Regions from separate parts of the Homo sapiens genome. Here region 2 is linked to region 1. The links are contacts of gene promoters, found by promoter capture Hi-C in human tissues and cell types (Jung and others, 2019). All regions are on one chromosome and are shown on one strand. The core of a region is centred on a gene start or on the middle of the fragment in contact, and the rest is flanking DNA. Distances in the headings are between cores, read along the strand shown. Region 1 holds the start of LRGUK (leucine rich repeats and guanylate kinase domain containing). Region 2 overlaps EXOC4 (exocyst complex component 4).

Region 1 (2,569 bases), core at 1-2,500:
GACAAAGCCAGACTCCATCTCAAAAACATAAACAAAATAGAAAGGAAGCAAATTAAATTACGCTTTTGAAAGAAAGCAATTTATTAGAAGCCAAGAGAAAAGAAGTGATGTGATGAGAAGTGGAAAAGGACAAGAAGACAACAATGGACTAAGAAAGGAAAAGGACCATAATAAGCATAAGAAAGAAGAGGAATTGTGTGGTGGTCAGAAGAGATATTGTAGAAAGGAGGGAATGGCAGTCATGTGAAACGCGAAGCCGCCATCCCAGTCAATATGGGTGGGATGATGGGAACATTCCCCACATCCTAAAATATTCCCACAATGAGCTGGCTGTTCGAACATTATAAGGCTCTTTTCTGGTGTGTGTGCATGTTGCTTGTATAAGGCATATGCCCCCGACAGAAGTAATGTATTCAACTTTTAAGTCACTTAGTCTTTGAAGAAGCACTTTCAAAAGCGGATTTTTTTTTTTTTTTTTTTCCTGGAGGGAGGCTGACGGGACTAGAACTGAGGAAGAGTGTGGAAGTATGTCATAGCCATGGGCAACAGGTGCTGGCAATGTCAGAGATGAACTCTGCCTATTCACAATACTGTCAAAGTATAATTTTGAAAAAGCTAAAGCCATAATTCCCAGACAATTATCTAGACACTCTTACAAAGTGACGCTGTGTTAACTCGACTCATAAGAAATCAAATGTGTTAATGAAAAAAGAAAGGAACTATTTAGAGCTATTTCAGGCAGGGGGTGAGAAAACGGGGTAAAAGACAGGGGAAGAAAAGAGGGGGAAGAGGCGTTCCTGGAGGCGAGAGAGCCTGAGAAGGTGTGGGAAGCTTCGGGCTGGTGGGGGTGCATCGGGGAGCTGCCGCTGAAGTAACAGGGCTGGACGAGGGAGCCAGGGAGTACGGGGTGGGGGGGAAGACACACCTCCAAATTCAGCATTTCGGACTCTGAGGACTCCTCGGATCCCGCCTCGCCCTCGCCCTGGTCCTCATCTCCGTCCGAGTCCAGCTCCTGATAGCGGTGCATGAGCTGCTGGAGCAGGTAGGAGGAGGCTATGTTAGAGCTGCCTTTCGTCTTCTGCCCCATGGGAAAAGACCAGCAAGGCTGACGCTCTTTTTCTGCGCGAAACTGTAACGATCGGGCTCCAGTTCGGGATCTGCCCAAGCCTCTCAGGAGAGAGGCAGCTCTGGTCCTCAGGAGAGCCCTCTCGGAGGTCGCCATCTTGTTTAGCGGGGTTGCCTAGGAGACTGACCCCAGGCAAGGGGAACCGCGGAGGATTCTGGGGCCTGTAGTCTCCTCCGCGCGTACTCGCCTTCTGCAGGCGGGGCAGTGGGCGCTCCACTTGACTTTTCTTTTTCTCAGTCTCTTCTGTTATTTTTCTCTCTTTGGTCTGTTCTGTTCGCTTATCTTTCCTGTTTTCACCTCTTTTCGCTACACCCCCTTTCTTTGTCTCCAGCTGTTTCCTCCCTACCCTGAGACCCCTCTTAGAGCTTTGTCATCCCACGATAGGATCGCAGGTGCGCCACCGTTGCCGCTTCATTCCCAAAGGGCTCTTTCCGCAGAGTCGTACTTTAGAAGTGTCTAATGTCTCTAAAGCAGTCTGTAGGAAAGCTAGTACCACTGAAATTTATGCAAAGCGCGACGCTAGGAGATGAGGGTGCATATAAGTGAAATAGAAGGCATGGTTCCTGTCCTTATGATTTAATTGCAGATAATAAAGAGAAACTACCAGACGACGCCTGAGAGCTGATTTCCAATTAATTTACATTCCCCACCCCCACCCCCCAATGATAAGCCTTGTCCTTGGGGAGAAAAACTGGCAGTGGTCTTACAATCCAAACAGAGAGAGAAAAAACTGCTGTCAAATTGACACTGTATCTGAAAGCGTCTGAAAAGCTATTAGCATCCCATAAATAATTATATTAGTCAAGTGACCTGCATTGGCAATTATTTTAATCTTGTTGCACAGGCTCTCTTTGCAGTTAAAAAAAATACTCTTTCAAGATAACAAAGCACGATTTTATGCTAGTGTGATTTTATGTGACCCAAATCCCATAGCCTTAAGCTCCACAACGTCGACACTCTATAGAAAAGCAGAATGAAAATTATAGTAACTATTATTGCCATAGTGATGACAATAGAGATCCTTGCAGGGAAGTAGCCCTCATCCTTCTGGCCTTACAGGGCCTTTTCTGCACGCTTCAATGACAGCAGTTGCAAATACAAAATGATCCTGTCAATGGCTGTCAGGGGAGAAGGAGAAAAAATCCTTATGGACACCATCCATTGACGATTATCTTTCTCAGTGCTTGAGGGACCGTTAAAACTGACATAAAGCTTTCAGAATTACCTTCCTTCATTATCTTGCTAGTCATAAATGTAAAGGCCACAAGCAAAATATCTCTTTCTGCCAGGCTCATCTTGCTTTTTGCTTATTTCTTTTTCCAATAAGTAGAGATTCCTCCAAGGGAATTTTCCCCACCCTTACCCTCGTAGGGCCTGGCTTCGGCTAAGTGACATAGGGAAGAATCAGGCAGAAAGTGTAAAAATGCAAATCTCGATCGTTTT
Region 2 (6,187 bases), core at 2,854-5,353, 290 kb after region 1:
GATTGAACTAAAGACTTAAAAGATTATATGAAAGTCTAAGGTAATGAGGCAGGCAGCTGACAGGGCTAGAAATGGATTTTATGAAATTCTAGTCTCAGCTTGCTTCTTGCAGGATCTTTTCTCAAATTTCCTTTCACTTTATCCCTTATTTTTTTGCTTGATTGAAGACCAACTTCAGAGATATAAAATAAAGTAAGTGTGACGTTTAACTTTTTTTTGGGGGGTATAAAGTTCTCGTGTGTGTGTGTGGGGGACTGTGAGGATTAAAAGGCAGTTATTACAGAATTCATTGCAAAGTCTATTGTTTTATTATAGTAAATAAATGCCTGCCTTTTATGTTCTTTCAAATCCTATAAGACTGAAGAGTTTATCCAGTCAACCAGACACACAACATTCTCCCTGAAAAAGGAGAGTGTGCTATCAGTGCTCTAATGCCACTGCAGCAAAGAATCAGATTACTCTGACTTGTGTTCATGGCATGATTATAAAATAAACCTGTAATCTGTGAAAGTAAGCAAAGCTTCCTTTAGCTCACTGCATGCAACATGAAGTATATAGAGTTTTGTTTATACCAAGTTCTGAGCAGGTATCAAGATAGGCTGCACTAGCTGAGAGTGAGATGCCCATGGCTGAGATATGTGGCAGGAATGACATGCTAGAGAGTAGGCATATGTGAAATGCTTCTGTCAGGGAGAAAGCCCACCAAGTTACATGAAAAGCTTTTGGACTTTCTAAGAGAAGCAAATACTGGACAGTTTGGGATGAGCCTAACTCACAAGTATCTTCAGTTAGTATAATGGGCAAACGTTGTATTTCTTTTATATATATCTTATATATCTAGTATATATAAGATATATATAAAATATAGTATAATATGTATATTATATATAATATTGTATTTTACACACACACACACACACACACACACACACACACTACTAACCTGCCTATCATGCTAGTTGGCCCATGCTGGGTGCTCAGTACATCTTAACTGAAGGGAATATTCCCAGTGGGCCATTTGTAGTAAAACAAAACAGGCAACAGGATGTGCATGCATCATGAAACTGCAGCTCTTGCACTAGAAAAGCAACATAAAGCACATGTCTACCTAGTCAGAGTAGGCCTCCATATCATCTTTCTAAATAGGCAATAGTTTATTCACTCTATTTCATACAAAGAGAAAACACATAAGCAATACAACCCAAAGTTCCCAGGATGTAGAGTCTACTTATACATACAAATTTCAATGTTAAGATACAACTTTGGATTTTCAGGCTCGAGTTAATCAAAGGCCCTTTCAAATAAAATTCATATTTGATACAATGAAATTTGCTATAAAGTAGAAAATCTAGTGTGGTTTTAATGTGGACATGGGTTTTTTTAGGTCATGTTTCAGAGAGTGCCTGAAATGACCTCCTTTTTAGTCAGAAATGGGCCAGTGAAGGGGATTCTAAGCTTGGTTACAAACACCTGAGTTGAGTTTGAGGCATATGATACTTTGATGTTGTTCTACCTATAGAAGCATGGTAGGGAGGTATGGCCAATGAGAAGAACAATGAGCAGTAGGTACTCCATTTGTCAAGCTGGTAAGAATAGAATGTGTGGCTTGTAATCCCAGAGCTTTGTGAGGCCGAGGCAGGCAGATCACAAGATCAAGAGATCGAGACCATCCTGGCCAACACGGTGAAACCACGTCTCTACTAAACATACAAAAATTAGCTGGGTGTGGTGGTGCATGCCTGTAGTCCCAGCTACTTGGGAGGCTGAGGCAGGAGAATCCCTTGAACCTGGGAAGCAGAGGTTTCTGTGAGCCAAGATCGCGCCACTGTACTCCAGTCTGGCGACAGAGCAAGACTCCATCTCAAAAAAAAAAAAAAAAAAAAAAAAAAAAAAGGAATATGTGGGAATCCAAGAAATTAAATTGGTTGGGTAAAAATGTAAAAGAGATTAGAAATAGTTTGAGGTAGTCATTGGATTTCAACACAGGCAATTGACAGAAATTGACAGAGCTGAATTCTACCAGATGTATAAAGAAGAGCCGGTACCACTCTATTCCAAAAAATTGAGAAGGAGGGACTCCTCCCTAACTCATTCTGTGAGGCCAGAATCATTCTGATACCAAAACCTGGCAGAGACACAACAACAAAAAAACTTAAGGCCAATATCCTTAATAAAATATAGATGCCAAGGTCCTCAACAAAATACTAGCAAACTGAATCCAGCAGCACATCAAAAAGCTACTCCACCATGATCAAGCAGGCTTTATCCCTGGGATGCAAGATTGGTTCAACATACACAAATAAATAAATGTGAGTTCATCACATAAACAGAACTAAAAACAAAAACCACATGATTAGCTCAATGGATGCAGAAAAGGCTGTCCATAAAATTCAACATCTCTTCAGGTTAAAAACCCTCAAGAAAGTAGGCACTGAAGGAACATAACTCAAAATAATATGAACCATCTATGACAAACCCACAGCCAACATCATACTGAATGAGCAAAGCTGGAAGCCTTCCCCTTGAAAACTGGAGCAAGAAAAGAACGCCTTCTCTCACCACTCCAATTCAACATATTACTGGAAGTCCTGGACACAGCAATCAGACAAAAAAAAAGAAAAGGCATCCAAATAGGAAGAGAGGAAGTCAAACTATTCCTGTTTTCAGATGTTATGATTCTATTCCTAGAAAATTCCAGTCTCTGCCCAAAAGCTCCTTGATCTGATAAGCAACTTTGGCAAAGTTTCAGGATACAAAATCAATGTACAAAAATCAGTAGTATTCCTATACACCAACAACATCCAAGGTGACAGCCAAATCAAGAATGCAATTCCATTCACAATAGCCACAAAAAGAATACAATACTAGGAATACAGCTAACCAGGGAGGTAAAGGATCTCTACGATGAAAGTCACAAAACACTGCACAAAGAAATCAGAGATGACATAACAAATAGAAAAACATTCCATGCTCATGGATAGGAAAAAACAATATTGTTGAAAGGGCCATACTGCCCAAAGCAATTTACAGATTCAGTGCTATTCCTATCAAACTACCAATGACGTTTTCCACAGAATTAGAAAAAAAAACTATTTAAAAATTCATATGAAACCAAAAAAGAGCCCAAATAGTCAAGGCAATCCTAAGCAAAAAGAACGAAGCTGGAGGCATCACAATACCCAACTTCAAACTATACTACAAGACTATGGTAACCAAAACAGCATGGTACTGGTACCAAAACAGACACACAGATCAATGGAACAGAATAGAGAGCCCTATTAGAGAGCAGAAATAATGCTGCACATCTACAACCATCTGACTGACAAAATCCACAAAAATGAGCAATGAAGAAATTTGTTCATTTATTGAATGGACTCCCTATTCGATAAATGGTGCTGGGATAACTGGCTAGCCATGTGCATTAGATTGAAACTGGACCCCTTCGTTATTTATACCATACACAAAAATCAACTCAAGATGGATTAAAGACTTAAATATAAAACCTAAAACTATAAAAACCCTGGAAAATAACCTAGGAAATACCATTCTGGACATAGGACCTGGAAAAGATTTCATAACGAAGCAATTGCAATGAAAACAAAAATCAATAAATGGAACCTAATTAAACTAAAGAGCTTCTGCATAGCAAAAGAAACTATCAACAGAGTAAACAGACAACCTACATTATGGGAAAAATATTTTCAAACTATGCATTCAACAAAGGTCTAATATCTAGCATCTATTAGGAACTGAAACAAATTTACAAGCAATAATCAACCCCATTAAGAAGTGGGCAAAGGACATGAACAGATACTTTTTGAAAGTACACATACATGTGGCCAAGAAGCATATGAAAAAATGCTAAGCACAACTGATCATTAAAGAAAAGCAAATCAAAATCACAGTGAGATACTATTTCACATCAGTCAGAATGGCTACTACTAAAAAGTCAATAACAGATGCTGGTGAGGTTGTGGAGAAAAGGGAAAACTTACACACTGCTGATGAAAATGTAAAATAGTTCTTCCATTATGGAAAACAGTTTGAGGATTTCTCAAAGAACTTAAAACAGAATTACCATTTGACCCAGCAGTCCCGTTACTGAGTATATACCCAAAGGAATATAAATCATTCTAACATAAAGACACATGCAAACATATGTGCATTGCAGCACTGTTCACAATAGCAAAGACATGGAATCAACCTAAATGTCCATCAATGGTAAACTGGATAAAGAAAATGTGGTACATATACACCGTGGAATACTAAAAAAGAATGAACTCACGTTCTTTGCAGCAACATGGATGGAGCCAGAGGCCATCATCCTAAGCAACCTCATTCAGAAACAGAAAATCAAAACTGCATGTTCTCACTTATAAGTGAGAGCTAAACATGGAGCACATATGAACACAAAGAAGGGAAAAACAGACACCGGGACCTACTTGAGGGTGGTGGGTGGGAAGAGGGTGAGGACTGAGAAACTACCTATTGGGTACTATGCTTATTATGTGGGTGATGAAATAATCTGTATATCAAACCCCTGCAACATGCAATTTACCTATATAACAAACCTGCACATGTACCCCTGAACCTAAAATAACAGTTTAAAAAGAACTTTCTGGAAATAAATACATAAAGATGGGGAACTGAGTAGTTTTCTTGGCAGGACTGTGGTGGAAATGGTACTGATTTGTACCTATCTGAGGAAGGAGGCAGGAAAAATAACCTCTTTGTAGAATAAGAATGGACCTAAAAGGAAAAAAAAGCTGCAGCAGAAAAAGCCTTGCCCATTGTGGATACTATATTCTCCATCTCAGCACATGCCATCTTCCTAGTCAACAAATTAAAAAACCTGGGAACCATGGTAGACTCTGGCTTCCCAGCTCCTATCAGTGGCCAGGTGATTCTAATGCTTACCACCCTTCACATCTTCAGTGTACTGAATGTTTATGAACCACTTCCCAAATTCATATGTTGAAATCCTAACCCCCAAGGTGACAGTATGAGGAGGTGGGGACTTTGGGAGGTGATTAGGTTATAAAAGCAGAGCCCTTGTGAATGGGATTAGTGCCCTCATGAAATGGGATTAGTGCCCTCAGAGAGATCCCTCACCCCTTCCGCCCTGTGAGGTTCCAGAGAAAAGGCAGCCAACTATGAATGAGAATATAGGCCCTCATCAGACACCAAATCTGCCAGCACTTTGATCTTGGACTTCCCCACCTCCAGAACAGTGAGAATTAAGTTTCTGTTGTTTATGAGCTACCCATTTTGTGGTATTTTGTTACGGCAGCCCGAATGGCCTATGACAATACCCATTCTTCCATTTCCTACTGCCTTATTCAGGCCCTCACTGTCTTTTAAAAAATCTCTTTTATTGTGAAATACAACATAACACATTTAAGACAAAGTTTATAGTAATAATGCACATCTTAATAATCATAAAGGTAACACCCAATGGAACCACAAACTTGGTAAGGAAATGAAAGTTTCCAGCCAGGCGTAGTGGCTCACGCCTGTAATCCCAGCACTTTGGGAGGCTGAGGCAGGTGGATCGCGAGGCCAGGAGATGGAGACCATCCTGTCCAACATGGTGAAACTCCGTCTCTACTAAAAATACAAAAAATAGCCAGGTGTGGTGGAGCGTGCCTGTAGTCCCAGCTACTCAAGAGGCTGAGGCAGGAGAATCGTGCAGTGAGCTGAGATTGCGCCACTGCACTCCAGCCTGGGGGACAGAGCGAGACTCCATCTCAAAATAAATAAATAAATAAATAAATAAAATACAATAAAAAATAATAAATAAAACTTTCCATTATCCCAAGTGCTCTCCTGCCCAATCAAAATCTTCTCCCTTCCTATCTGAGGTAACCTTTGTAATAGATTTTTGTTGTTGTTGCTATCCTTTATGATTTTACCACTTAGATATGCATCCCTATACTATATAGCTTAATTTTGCCTGTTACGAATAGAATCAAATTTTACATATTCTTTTGTGTCTTGCTTCTTTCAACACTGTTAGATTCATGCAAGCTATGTATAACATGCAGTACATCCATTCACTCTCACTGCTGTATCAGATTCGATTATAGGTATATATGAAAATGTATCTATTCCCCTCAATAAGGTATGCCACTATATCTTTGTTAATACTTTTTCCTTTATTTGGAATCTATCTACCTTTCTAGATTCA

Evidence for each region. The method cuts DNA at HindIII sites, captures the fragments that hold promoters and counts their contacts. A contact is called where the count stands out against the background at its distance.
Region 2: a fragment that was not itself captured here is called in contact with the fragment with the promoter of LRGUK in region 1 in 1 of the 25 tissues and cell types used here (dorsolateral prefrontal cortex).

What each region holds. Positions count from the first base shown.
Region 1 is chr7:134,126,021-134,128,589 of GRCh38, reverse strand. It overlaps LRGUK (leucine rich repeats and guanylate kinase domain containing), which reads right to left and starts at 1,250. Exons shown (of 20, transcript NM_144648.3): 1 at 926-1,250. The coding sequence starts at 1,222. RefSeq lists enhancers at 968-1,237, 1,348-1,397. The HindIII fragment of the contact is 8,230 bases long and covers 1-2,569 here.
Region 2 is chr7:133,840,085-133,846,271 of GRCh38, reverse strand. All of the region lies in intron 11 of EXOC4 (exocyst complex component 4), which reads right to left. Among named protein-coding and RNA genes, the nearest start is that of LRGUK, 280 kb to the left of the region's middle. The HindIII fragment of the contact is 6,032 bases long and covers 1,088-6,187 here.